2 separate regions of the Homo sapiens genome follow, and region 2 is linked to region 1. Evidence: promoter capture Hi-C in 16 types of primary human blood cells and fetal thymus (Javierre and others, 2016). All regions are on one chromosome and are shown on one strand. The core of a region is centred on a gene start or on the middle of the fragment in contact, and the rest is flanking DNA. Distances in the headings are between cores, read along the strand shown.

Region 1 (5,060 bases), core at 896-3,395:
GCATAAGGCTTCCCATCATGGCATTTGATAATTTTTAATTTCATAATTCTCCGAGGGCAGGGGCTCAGAAATGGAAGGGCTGTGCTGCCACCTGTGCTGTCAGTGAGGGCTCCAGGCAGAGGGCTGAGCGTTTCCCAGGACTTGTATCCTCACTGTCATGTTCAGGGCTCAGCACAGAACCTGAGGCTAAGCCAGGTGTCCTCTGTTCCTGTGGCACCCCCACAGGCTCCAGCACTTCCCCACTGCAGCCTTCGTTAGCCCGAGTCGCCACTTCCCTGCTCAGGGCCCCAGCTCAGGGGAGGTTCTTTCTTATCCCTCCTCCATACCCCACTCTCTAGCACACAGTGGATAAATGAACATGATTCTGCTCGGAGGTGGTATCCCCATTTTACAGATGGTGAAACTGAGGCATAAGAAGCTTAAGCAACTTGCTCAGCCAATAAGTGGGAAAAGCATTCACAGAGACAACAGCATATAATCCCAGCCATTACCACCCCTTAGAGAAATGACGTATCAGGCAGCCTGTCGGTCTTGGGGCCAACTACAAGTTTCAGCACGGGGTGCTGTAGATGAAGCTGATGGTTGAGGTGGTGGAGAGGGTGAAGGAGATGGGGGTGGTGGCGTGGGGTGGGCAAGTGAGGAGAGAGCTCCTCCAGCAGGTGACACAGCGGCGCTGGGGGAGCTGGCACCAGACTCCAGGTGTTCAGCCTGGAGTTCACCTGTGGGAGGACCCAGCAAGGTGGACAATCTGAAAGCTGGGTTGCAGGGAGGGGAGTAGGGACTCGAGGAGGCAGTGGGCCTCGGGATGGCAGCGAATAGTCACAGCTAGATTTTCAGAGCCAGGAGCCCAGGCCCCTGGAGAGGAAGAGATTGTACAAAGTCACTCCCCAGGTAGCCCAGGGTAATGATGGTAAAAATAATAGTTGCCCCTTCTGGCTTCTAACCAGGAGTCATCTCACTCAACCTCACCACAACCCTTTTTACAGTTGAAGACACTGAGGCTCAGGAAGGTGACCTGTAGCTTGTGGAGCTGCATTTCTAAACACGGCCTGTCTCAACTGCCTGTCATCAGGACAGGGTGTCAGGACCTGGGGCTAAGGATGGGACCCAGGAATCAGAAACAGACCCAAGTCAGAAGCAGAGAAGCAGCAAAGCGGGACTGGATGCCTAACCCAGACTGGGCAGAGCTGGGAGCGCCCTAGCCTCAGGGCGGGTGCAGACAGGGGGTCACGAAGCCGGATCTCAGTGACAGAGTCCGCCACCTCTTTCTTTCCAGGGTACAGACCAGAGGAGCCTAGTGGGAGGGGAGCAGGCAGATTCTTTCCCTCTCTGGCAGGGGCATGTATCATACCGGGGAGTGGAGGAGGATAAGGGCGGCATCTTTCTTGGGTTGGTCCCTTGGGCATCCACATGGGAGTGGCCCTCCGTCGGTTCCCTGGTCCAGGGTCCCCGGTCTTACCGGGACAAGGACAGCAAGACGGGAGACGGCAGCCCCATCCCTTAGCTTCGGCTGCCATCTGGTGGCCAAAGCGCAGAACTGCACCATGTGGAACCACCGGATCCCCCCACCCAGCCCCGGCCGGGCCTCCCGGGGGCACGAGGGGCGTGGCACGACTCCCACAGCCATCAGCCTGAGGACCCTGCCCTCAGCCGCCTCAGTCTGAGGGGAAGGCATGGCCCTGACCTTAGAGACCCCAATTTGGCGATGGGGCATCACATCCCTCCGGGCATCTCAGAGCTGCCTGCCCGAGGGAGGCGAAGCAGATGGAAAGCCCCCCAGCCACGTCTCTCAGTCAGAGGAAACGGGTCTCCTCTTCGGCCAGCCGGGTCCTCTTCCCCCGGGTGCCGCCTGGCTGTGCGACCCGGCAGTCCTCCCGCCTCTCCGGGCCTCAGCCTCCTCTCCTGGACAGTCCCGTGGGCTTCCGGGAGCCCGGTGTCACACCGCCCCGCGTGTCGCAGGTGGTCATCGTGGTGACAGACGGGAGGCCCCAGGACAGCGTGCAGGACGTGTCTGCGCGGGCCCGGGCCAGCGGCGTCGAGCTGTTCGCCATCGGAGTGGGCAGCGTGGACAAGGCCACGCTGCGGCAGATCGCCAGCGAGCCGCAGGACGAACACGTCGATTACGTGGAGAGCTACAGCGTCATCGAGAAGCTGTCCAGGAAGTTCCAGGAGGCCTTCTGCGGTGCGCGGGCAGGCGGGGGCGGAGCCAGGGCAGGGGCGGAGAAGGGGAGAGCGGCGGGGCGGGGCCAGGGCTGGAGGCGGGACCGAGGCTGAGGCGCAGACGGAGCCAGCGCCGGCGCAGGGCAGGGGCGGGGCCGGGGGGGGGGCAGAGGCGGAGACGGGAGAGAGATAGAATGTCAGTGCCGGGGCGGGGCCGGGGAGGAGCCGGGGGCGGAGGCGGAGACGGAGAGAGTCAGCGCCGGGGCGGGGCAAGGGTGGGGCCAGGGCAGGGGCGGAGACGGAGAGAGCGGCGGGGCGGGGCCAGAGCAGGCAGGGGGCGGGGCCAGGGCAGGGGCGAAGACGGAGACAGTCAGTGCCAGGGCGGGACCGGGGCGGAGGCGGAGAGAGTCGGCTCCAGGGGCAGGGCCAGGGCTGAGCGGGACGAGGCCGTGGCAGGCGCAGAGACTGAGAGTCCGCGCTGAGGCGGGCCAAGGCTAGGGGCGGAGCCAGCGCTAAAGTGAAGACAGAAAAAGTCAGCGTCGGGGGGCGGGGCCACATCAGAGGGCGGGGCCTGGCTGGGGCGGTAGCCTATAAAACGGCGGGAACTGAGTTACACGGCAACATCAGGGCGGGGCCAGGGCTAGGGACACGGCTTAGGTGGATTGGGGGTGGAACCTGGATTAGACTGAGGTGGTGCCAGCACCAGGGGTGGGGCCGTAGCTGGGGCGGAGCCTGATAACGGAGGAGGGTCTCCAGCCCCAGGTTAAGGGAGTTGGGGAGAGGCGATGTTAAGAGTCCTTTTATGGCCGGGCGCGGTGGCTCACGCCTGTAATCCCAGCACTTTGAGAGGCCGAGGCGGGCGGATCACGAAGTCAGGAGATCGAGACCATCCTGGCCAACATGGTGAAACCGGTCTCTACTAAAAATACAAAAAATTAGCCGGGCGTTGTTGCGGGCGCCTGTAGTCCCAGCTACTCGGGAGGCTGCGCCAGGAAAACGGCGTGAACCCGGGAAGCGGAGCTTGCAGTGAGCCGAGATCGTGCCACTGCACTCCAGCCTGGGCGACAGAGCGAGACGACTCCGTCTCAAAAAAAAAACAAAACAAAAAAAAAAACCGCACACACAAAAAACAACAGAGCCCTTTTATGTGGCAGAATCCTGGCAGGGACCAAGGAGGGCCCAGAGCTCAGGAAGGAGAGCTCCCAGAAAACCTACACATGTTTCTGTGTCGTGAGTTTTGGGTGCCAGAGTTTTCTGTGATGCGGGAGAGTCTGAGAGGCCTGGGCACTGGCAGGAGAAGGTTCAGAGCCCTTCTCGGAGGGGAGGTGTGTGTGTGGGTCTTTGGGATGTGACCCGCAGGGGCAGGGTGTCCAGTAGGACAGGATCAGGGTTAGGGCAGGGACTTTACCCATTTGTAAAATGGGTCTAAGAAGAGCATGCACGTTATTGAGAGGATCCAGTGAGATAATGCAAAATGTAACCCTCATTATATGGTATTTGACAGATAGGTGCTGTGTTCATTGTATGCTGTTCTAGACACTTGGGTGTCTTGATACAGCAGTGAACTAAACAGACTAAAGGCCCTAACCCTTGGCCTTTACCTTTTTAGTGAGACTTTTCATTCTTATCATCAGCATTATAACCTTCTTCAGGGATCTAGGCACTGGTGCAATGATTCCAGACGTGGGCTGAGAGTCGGGGGCCTGGGCCCCAGTATGTTGGAGATCTTAGTTTCCCTGAGTCTGGATGGGGCCTGGTATCCACAGTCAGGGAGGGACAACCTGTCTGTAGTGCCCAAGGCACTATGACTGTGAGATCTGAGCTACTTATTGTCCCCGCAGTGGTGTCAGACCTGTGCGCCACAGGGGACCATGACTGTGAGCAGGTGTGCATCAGCTCCCCCGGTTCCTACACCTGCGCCTGCCACGAGGGCTTCACTCTGAACAGCGACGGCAAGACCTGCAATGGTCAGTGGGGTGGACACAGGCTCGCCCTGGAGAGGGTGTGGAGGGGAGGTGATGGGGCCTCCCCAGGAAACCCATTCAAGCCTCCCTGCACCATACCTCTGAACCAATCTTCAAAGCAGACAGATGCCTTTTAGAGTTTGGTATCTGCAGAAGTTCTCACCTGACTTCTGTCCCTGTTTTCAACACAATGGGCGGTGGGTTTAGTGTGGTAGAAGGACTCACATAGTCTCAAAATCAAATCCTGGTGCTACCACTTCTGAGCTGTGTGATCTCACAGCTATTGGAGTTTCAGTTTCCAATACTGTACAGTGGGACCAGTCACCTTGGCTTTATAGAGGCAGTTCTGAGGGCACAATGTAATGATCCTCAGCACAGAGCTTGGTGTGTGGTGGGTGTCCAGCCGGGGAGCAGGATGGTTGACTATGTCCTTCAGCTTCAGCCCGTTGCCTTCCTGTCCTCCACAGTCTGCAGTGGTGGTGGTGGCAGCTCGGCCACTGACCTGGTCTTCCTCATTGACGGATCCAAGAGTGTGAGGCCAGAGAACTTTGAGCTGGTGAAGAAGTTCATCAGTCAGATCGTGGATACGCTGGACGTGTCAGACAAGCTGGCCCAGGTGGGGCTGGTGCAGTACTCAAGCTCTGTGCGCCAGGAGTTCCCCCTGGGTCGCTTCCACACCAAGAAGGACATCAAGGCGGCTGTGCGGAATATGTCCTACATGGAGAAGGGCACAATGACTGGGGCTGCTCTCAAGTACCTCATTGACAATTCCTTCACTGTGTCCAGTGGGGCTAGGCCCGGGGCCCAGAAGGTGGGCATTGTCTTCACTGATGGCCGGAGCCAGGACTACATTAATGATGCTGCCAAGAAGGCCAAAGACCTCGGTAGGTGTTGCCTGCCTGGACCCTGGACACCACTGATGGCCAGGGGTACACA
Region 2 (5,060 bases), core at 589-3,088, 340 kb before region 1:
GCTTAGGTATTTGCTCACTTTGAAACTGTTCTGCCAGGTTTTCTCTGGTTTGAGAAACTGCCTTGCCTCTTTAGGTAAAGCAGGAAGTCTTAGGGCATACAGATAGCTTTACAAAAGCCAATTGTTTCGTTTGAACATTTTTATAGGAGTCTTTTCTTTCCCCCATTCCTTTTAGAATGAAGGTGTGTTTAGTGTGCGTCAGTGATAAACTCCTCTTTTATGTGGATATTCTTTGTTAGATAACTTTTTTCTTTTAAAAATTTTTATTTGTATAATTTGTGAGGTACAAGTGTAATTTGTACATGCGTGTATTGCGTAGTGGTGAAGCCAGGGCTTTTTGTGTGTCCATCACTGGAATAACGTACATTGTCCTCCTTAGGTAATCTCTCATTATCCTTCTCTCAGCCTCCTAGATAACTATTTTGAGAAGGCTTTTATTTCAGAAAAGATTGCATTTGCTGTTTTAGGAATTCTGTTAGGGACTGGAGTTGCCTTAACTAGGGGTAACTAAATTCTAAGAGTCTTAAGCACGATGACTTTAAATTTACCAAAAACTTTTATATTTATCTCATTTTCATTAAGAAAAACCCAAAACATTGAGAGTCATAGAGGAAGGATTTCTTTCATTTTCTAGATGAGGAAACAGGTAGTTTTGTTTAGTGAAAGAACTTGGGTTTTGGAACTCTTGGCCTGCTCTAGAACAAAGATTGTTAGGTCGAGATTTCCTTTTAGAACAGAATGGGACTGTCTAGTATTAGTACTAAGAGAGTAATGAATTCTTTAAAAAACCAAGCAGGGAGGCATTAGGCTGGTTTGCACTTTTGAAAGACCGATGGTGAAACCGGGCTATGACTTTTTGGTTTTGGTACTTGAGCAGGGACTAGTGTCTAGGTTAGACTACTCCAGTACCCTGCTAAGGTTCTGATGGATTGGAATTCTTAACCTAGACTAGGCATTTCCAAATTAGGCTTTAAACAAATTACAAATTCCATTGTGTCTTCTTAGGCTGGCTTCAAAAACATGAATTTAGTTGTGAGAAGCAAATGCTACTTTATCAGAAGGTTTATTTATTCAACAGAGAGATAGTAGATTTGTTATTCATGTGTTTTTGAAGCATCACAGTGGGGGTTGGGAGAAGAGATAAAGCATTTGTAGCAGTAGACTGTTAGGCCGATGGCTTTGAAATTAGACCGTGGCTGTGGACAGGTGTGTCCTAATTGGTAACTGATTTATTTACTTTGTAGCTTTTTTTTTTTTTTTTTGAGATGGAGTCTCACTCTGTCGTCCAGGCTGGAGTGCAGTGCCTTGATCTCGGCTCACTGCAACCTCCGCCTCCTGGGTTCAAGCGATTCTTCTGCCTCAGTCTCCCGAGTAGCTGGGACTACAGGTGCGTGCCACCACACCTGGCTACTTTTTATATTTTTAGTAGAGACGGGGTTTCAGTATATTGGCCAGGCTGGTCTGGAATTCTGACCTGGAGATGCGCCTGCCTCCGCCTCCCAAAGTGCTGGGATTACAGGCGTAAGCCACCGTGTCCGGACACTTTGTAGCATTTTTTAAAAGCACCCACAGGCTGGCAAGTGTTCTATCTTAAGTACAGATGCAGTTTTTGGTTTTAAGGAACTTTAGTGTTTCATAGTAACATTTGAGGGATTCTTTGTTGGTCTTCCAGAGGAGTAGAGGATACAAATGAGACATATTGTTGAGTTACTCCTGCAAGGGGTTAGTAGAAAGAAGTAAGCTTGGGAACGATTAGGGTTTGAATCCTTTCTCTGCTACTTGCTAGTTGAATGGCCTTGGAAACATCCCATTTTCCTCCTGTACCTTAGTGTTTTCATTTGTAAAATAGAAATAATAATGGCTACCTTTCAATGCTTTTGTGATGAGACAATGTCTGCGATATATTCATTACACTATTACCGTGTTGAAGCTTCTGTTTGTTTGTTTGTTTTTGAGACAGGAACTCACTCTGTCGCCCAAGCGGGTGTGCAGCCTCCCGCTCCTGGGCTCAAATGATCCTCCCACCTCAGCCTCCCTAGTAGCTGGGACTATAGGCACATGCCACCATGCCTGGCTAATTATTTTTAGTAGAGATAGGTCTTGCTATGTTGCCCAGGCTGGTCTTGAACTCCTGGGCTCAAGCTGTCTGCCCACCTCAGCCTCCCAAAGTGCTGGGATTGTAGGTATGAGCCACCACACCCAACTGAGGCTTCTGGTTTGTATAGTGAGGCTTTCTTTTTTTTTTATAATTTAAAAAAATTATTTTATTTATTTATTTATTTTGAGACAGAGTCTCGCTCTGTCGCCCGGCTGGAGCACAGTGGTGCGACCTCTGCCTCCCTGGTTCAAGTGATTCTCCTGCCTCAGCCTCCCAAGTAGCTGGGATTACAGGCGCGTGCCACCAAGCCTGGCTAATTTCTGTGTTTTCAGTAGAGTCGGGGTTTCACCATGTTAGCCAGGATGGTCTTGATCTCCTGACCTCATGATCCACCCGCCTCGGCCTCCCAAAGTGCTGGGATTACAGGCATGAGCCACCGTGCCCAACCTCCATTGGCCTTCTTAGAGCCTTATTTTTTAATAAAATAATAGAGATGGGGGTCTCACTGTGTTGCCTAGGCTGGTCTTCAGCTCCTGGCTCAAGCGATTCTCCCTGCCTAAGTCTCCGAAGGTGCTGGGATGACAGGAGTGAGCCACTGTGCCCAGCCTGTAGTGAGGCTTTCTACACTAATATGAAGTGTTTAAATTTGGTTTGGTCTCATCCTGTTTATAGTAGTTGAAGTACTAATGGCATAATGTGATTACAGTTAATAGTTGTAAGTTACTGGTAAAAATATTAATGCTTTTAAAAATCAGTGACAACTGAGGAGAGGGCTTAGGCTAAAAGCATTCTGCTGCTGTTCTTGGTCAGAGGGTTTTATTGTTTCTTTAAGAAATATCCTATCAATATATTGGAGGTTTTATTTATTTATTTATTTATTATTTTTTTTTTTTTTACTGAAACAGAGTCTCGATTTGTCGCCCAGGCTGGAGTGCAGTGGTGCGATCTTGGCTCACTGCAACCTCTGCCTCCCGGGTTCAAACGATTCTCCTGCCTCAGCTTCCCAAGTAGTTGGGATTAAAAGTGTGTACCACCACACCCAGTTAATTTTTGTATTTCCAGTAGAGATGGGGTTTCATAATGTTGGCCAGGCTGGTCTCGAACTCCTGACCTCAAGTGATACACCTGCCTTGGCCTCCGAAGTGTTGGGATTATAGGCGTGAGCCACCTCGCCTGGCCAATATGTTGGACACTTTAAGGGATCCTTTCAAATTACACAATCTGAGCCATTGCTACTTATATATGGGTTTAGGCTTTTGTTTAGTTATTAGCATATGTCTGCTCCAGCTGTAAAGTTGTGATTGATTGATTGATTGATTTTTTGAGAGAGAGTCTCGCTCTGTCACCCAGGTTGGAGTACAGTGGCATGATCTCGGCTCACTGCAACCTTTGCCTTCTGGATTCAAGCCATTCTCCTGCCTCAGCCTCCCGAGTAGCTGGGATTACAGGTGCCCAGCACCATACCTGGCTAATTTTTATATTTTTAGTAGAGATGGGGTTTCACCATGTTGGCCAGGCTGGTCTTGAACTCCTGACGTCAGGTGATCCACCCACTTTGGCCTCCCAAAGTGCTGGGATTACAGGCATGAGCCACCACACCCGGCCGAAGTTGTGATAGTTTTAAAAAGGCTTTTGGGGCTGGGCGCGGTGGCTCACGCCTGTAATCCCAGCACTTCCGGAGGCCGAGGTGGGTAGATCACCTGAGGTCGGGAGTTCGAGACCAGCCTGGCCAACATGGTGAAACCCCGTCTTTACTAAAAATACAAAAAATTAGCCACCCGTGGTGGTGGGCGCCTGTAGTACCAGCTACTCAGGAGGCTGAGGCAGGAGAGTCGCTTGAGTCTAGGAGGCGGAGGCTGTAGTGAGCCGAGATCGCGTCATTGCACCCTAGCCTGGGCAACAGGGGCAAAACTCTTGTCTCAAAAAAAAAAAAGCTTTTGTTCATTTAAAAACTGTCAGTTGGTTTGAGGTATAAGTAAGTTGGGTAGACTGATAGAAGTCTAATTCTGTATTGCTATGTGTTGGTTAACAACATAAACTTCTCTGAAGTGGTAGTATTGAGTTCTGATCCCAATACCTTGCCAGAGTGCATGCCACCAACGACATTTATTTATTGTAAAAGACATGGGGTTCATGTTTTTATCTTAGTGTGTTTTATGTTTCAAAAGATGGAAATATTAAATATTTGTAACCTGTTTGTCCTTAGGTGTTGGTGGAATGAGCGTTGCATGTGTCTTGAAGAGAAAAGCAGTGCTTTGGCAGGACTCTTTCAGCCCCCACCTGAAACATCACCCTCAAGAACCAGCTAATCCCAACATGCCTGTTGTTTTGACATCTGGAACAGGGTCGCAAGCGCAGCCACAACCAGCTGCAAATCAGGCTCTTGCAGCTGGGACTCACTCCAGCCCTGTCCCAGGATCTATAGGAGTTGCAGGCCGTTCCCAGGACGACGCTATGGTGGACTACTTCTTTCAGAGGCAGCATGGTGAGCAGCTTGGGGGAGGAGGAAGTGGAGGAGGCGGCTATAATAATAGCAAACATCGATGGCCTACTGGGGATAACATTCATGCAGAACATCAGGTAAAAAAAAGTTCACTATTTTAGCTTTGACATTCCTTTATAATCACTGTCCACTTAGGATATCTGCTTTCAATGAATGTCTTTAAAAACTTAAATTGCTGATTTCATTTGGTACAAACAGTTACTTGTTATAAAGGTTGATCATTGTAATACTGTTACTGGGTCATTTATCATTCTGGTGCTAAATAGTAAATAGCCAATTCATTCATTCATTCATTCATTTGAGACAGAGTCTTGCTCTGTCACCCAGGCTGGAGTGTAGTCGCCTGATCTCGGCTTGATCTCGGCTCACTGCAGCTGCTGCCTCCCAGGTTCAAGCAGTTCTCCTGCCTCAGCCTCCTGAGTAGCTGGGACTACAGGTGTGCACCACCACGCCTGGCTG

The links. Contacts are between HindIII fragments. The CHiCAGO score rates a contact against its expected background, and 5 or more counts as called.
Region 2: a fragment that was not itself captured here is called in contact with the fragment with the promoter of MATN1-AS1 in region 1 in 6 of 17 cell types (total CD8 T cells, naive CD8 T cells, naive B cells and 3 more); the score reaches 6.6 in total CD8 T cells.

What each region holds. Positions count from the first base shown.
Region 1 is chr1:30,715,857-30,720,916 of GRCh38, reverse strand. MATN1-AS1 (MATN1 antisense RNA 1) reads right to left here and starts at 2,145. Exons shown (of 4, transcript NR_034182.1): 1 at 1,352-2,145. MATN1 (matrilin 1) reads left to right here. Exons shown (of 8, transcript NM_002379.3): 3 at 1,960-2,182; 4 at 4,002-4,127; 5 at 4,592-5,008. RefSeq lists silencers at 1,533-1,622, 2,183-2,702, 2,743-2,922 and enhancers at 1,280-1,855, 1,953-2,122. The HindIII fragment of the contact is 4,958 bases long and covers 421-5,060 here.
Region 2 is chr1:31,058,822-31,063,881 of GRCh38, reverse strand. It overlaps PUM1 (pumilio RNA binding family member 1), which reads left to right. Exons shown (of 22, transcript NM_001020658.2): 2 at 4,305-4,678. The coding sequence starts at 4,316. Among named protein-coding and RNA genes, the nearest start is that of PUM1, 4.4 kb to the left of the region's middle. The HindIII fragment of the contact is 189 bases long and covers 1,744-1,932 here.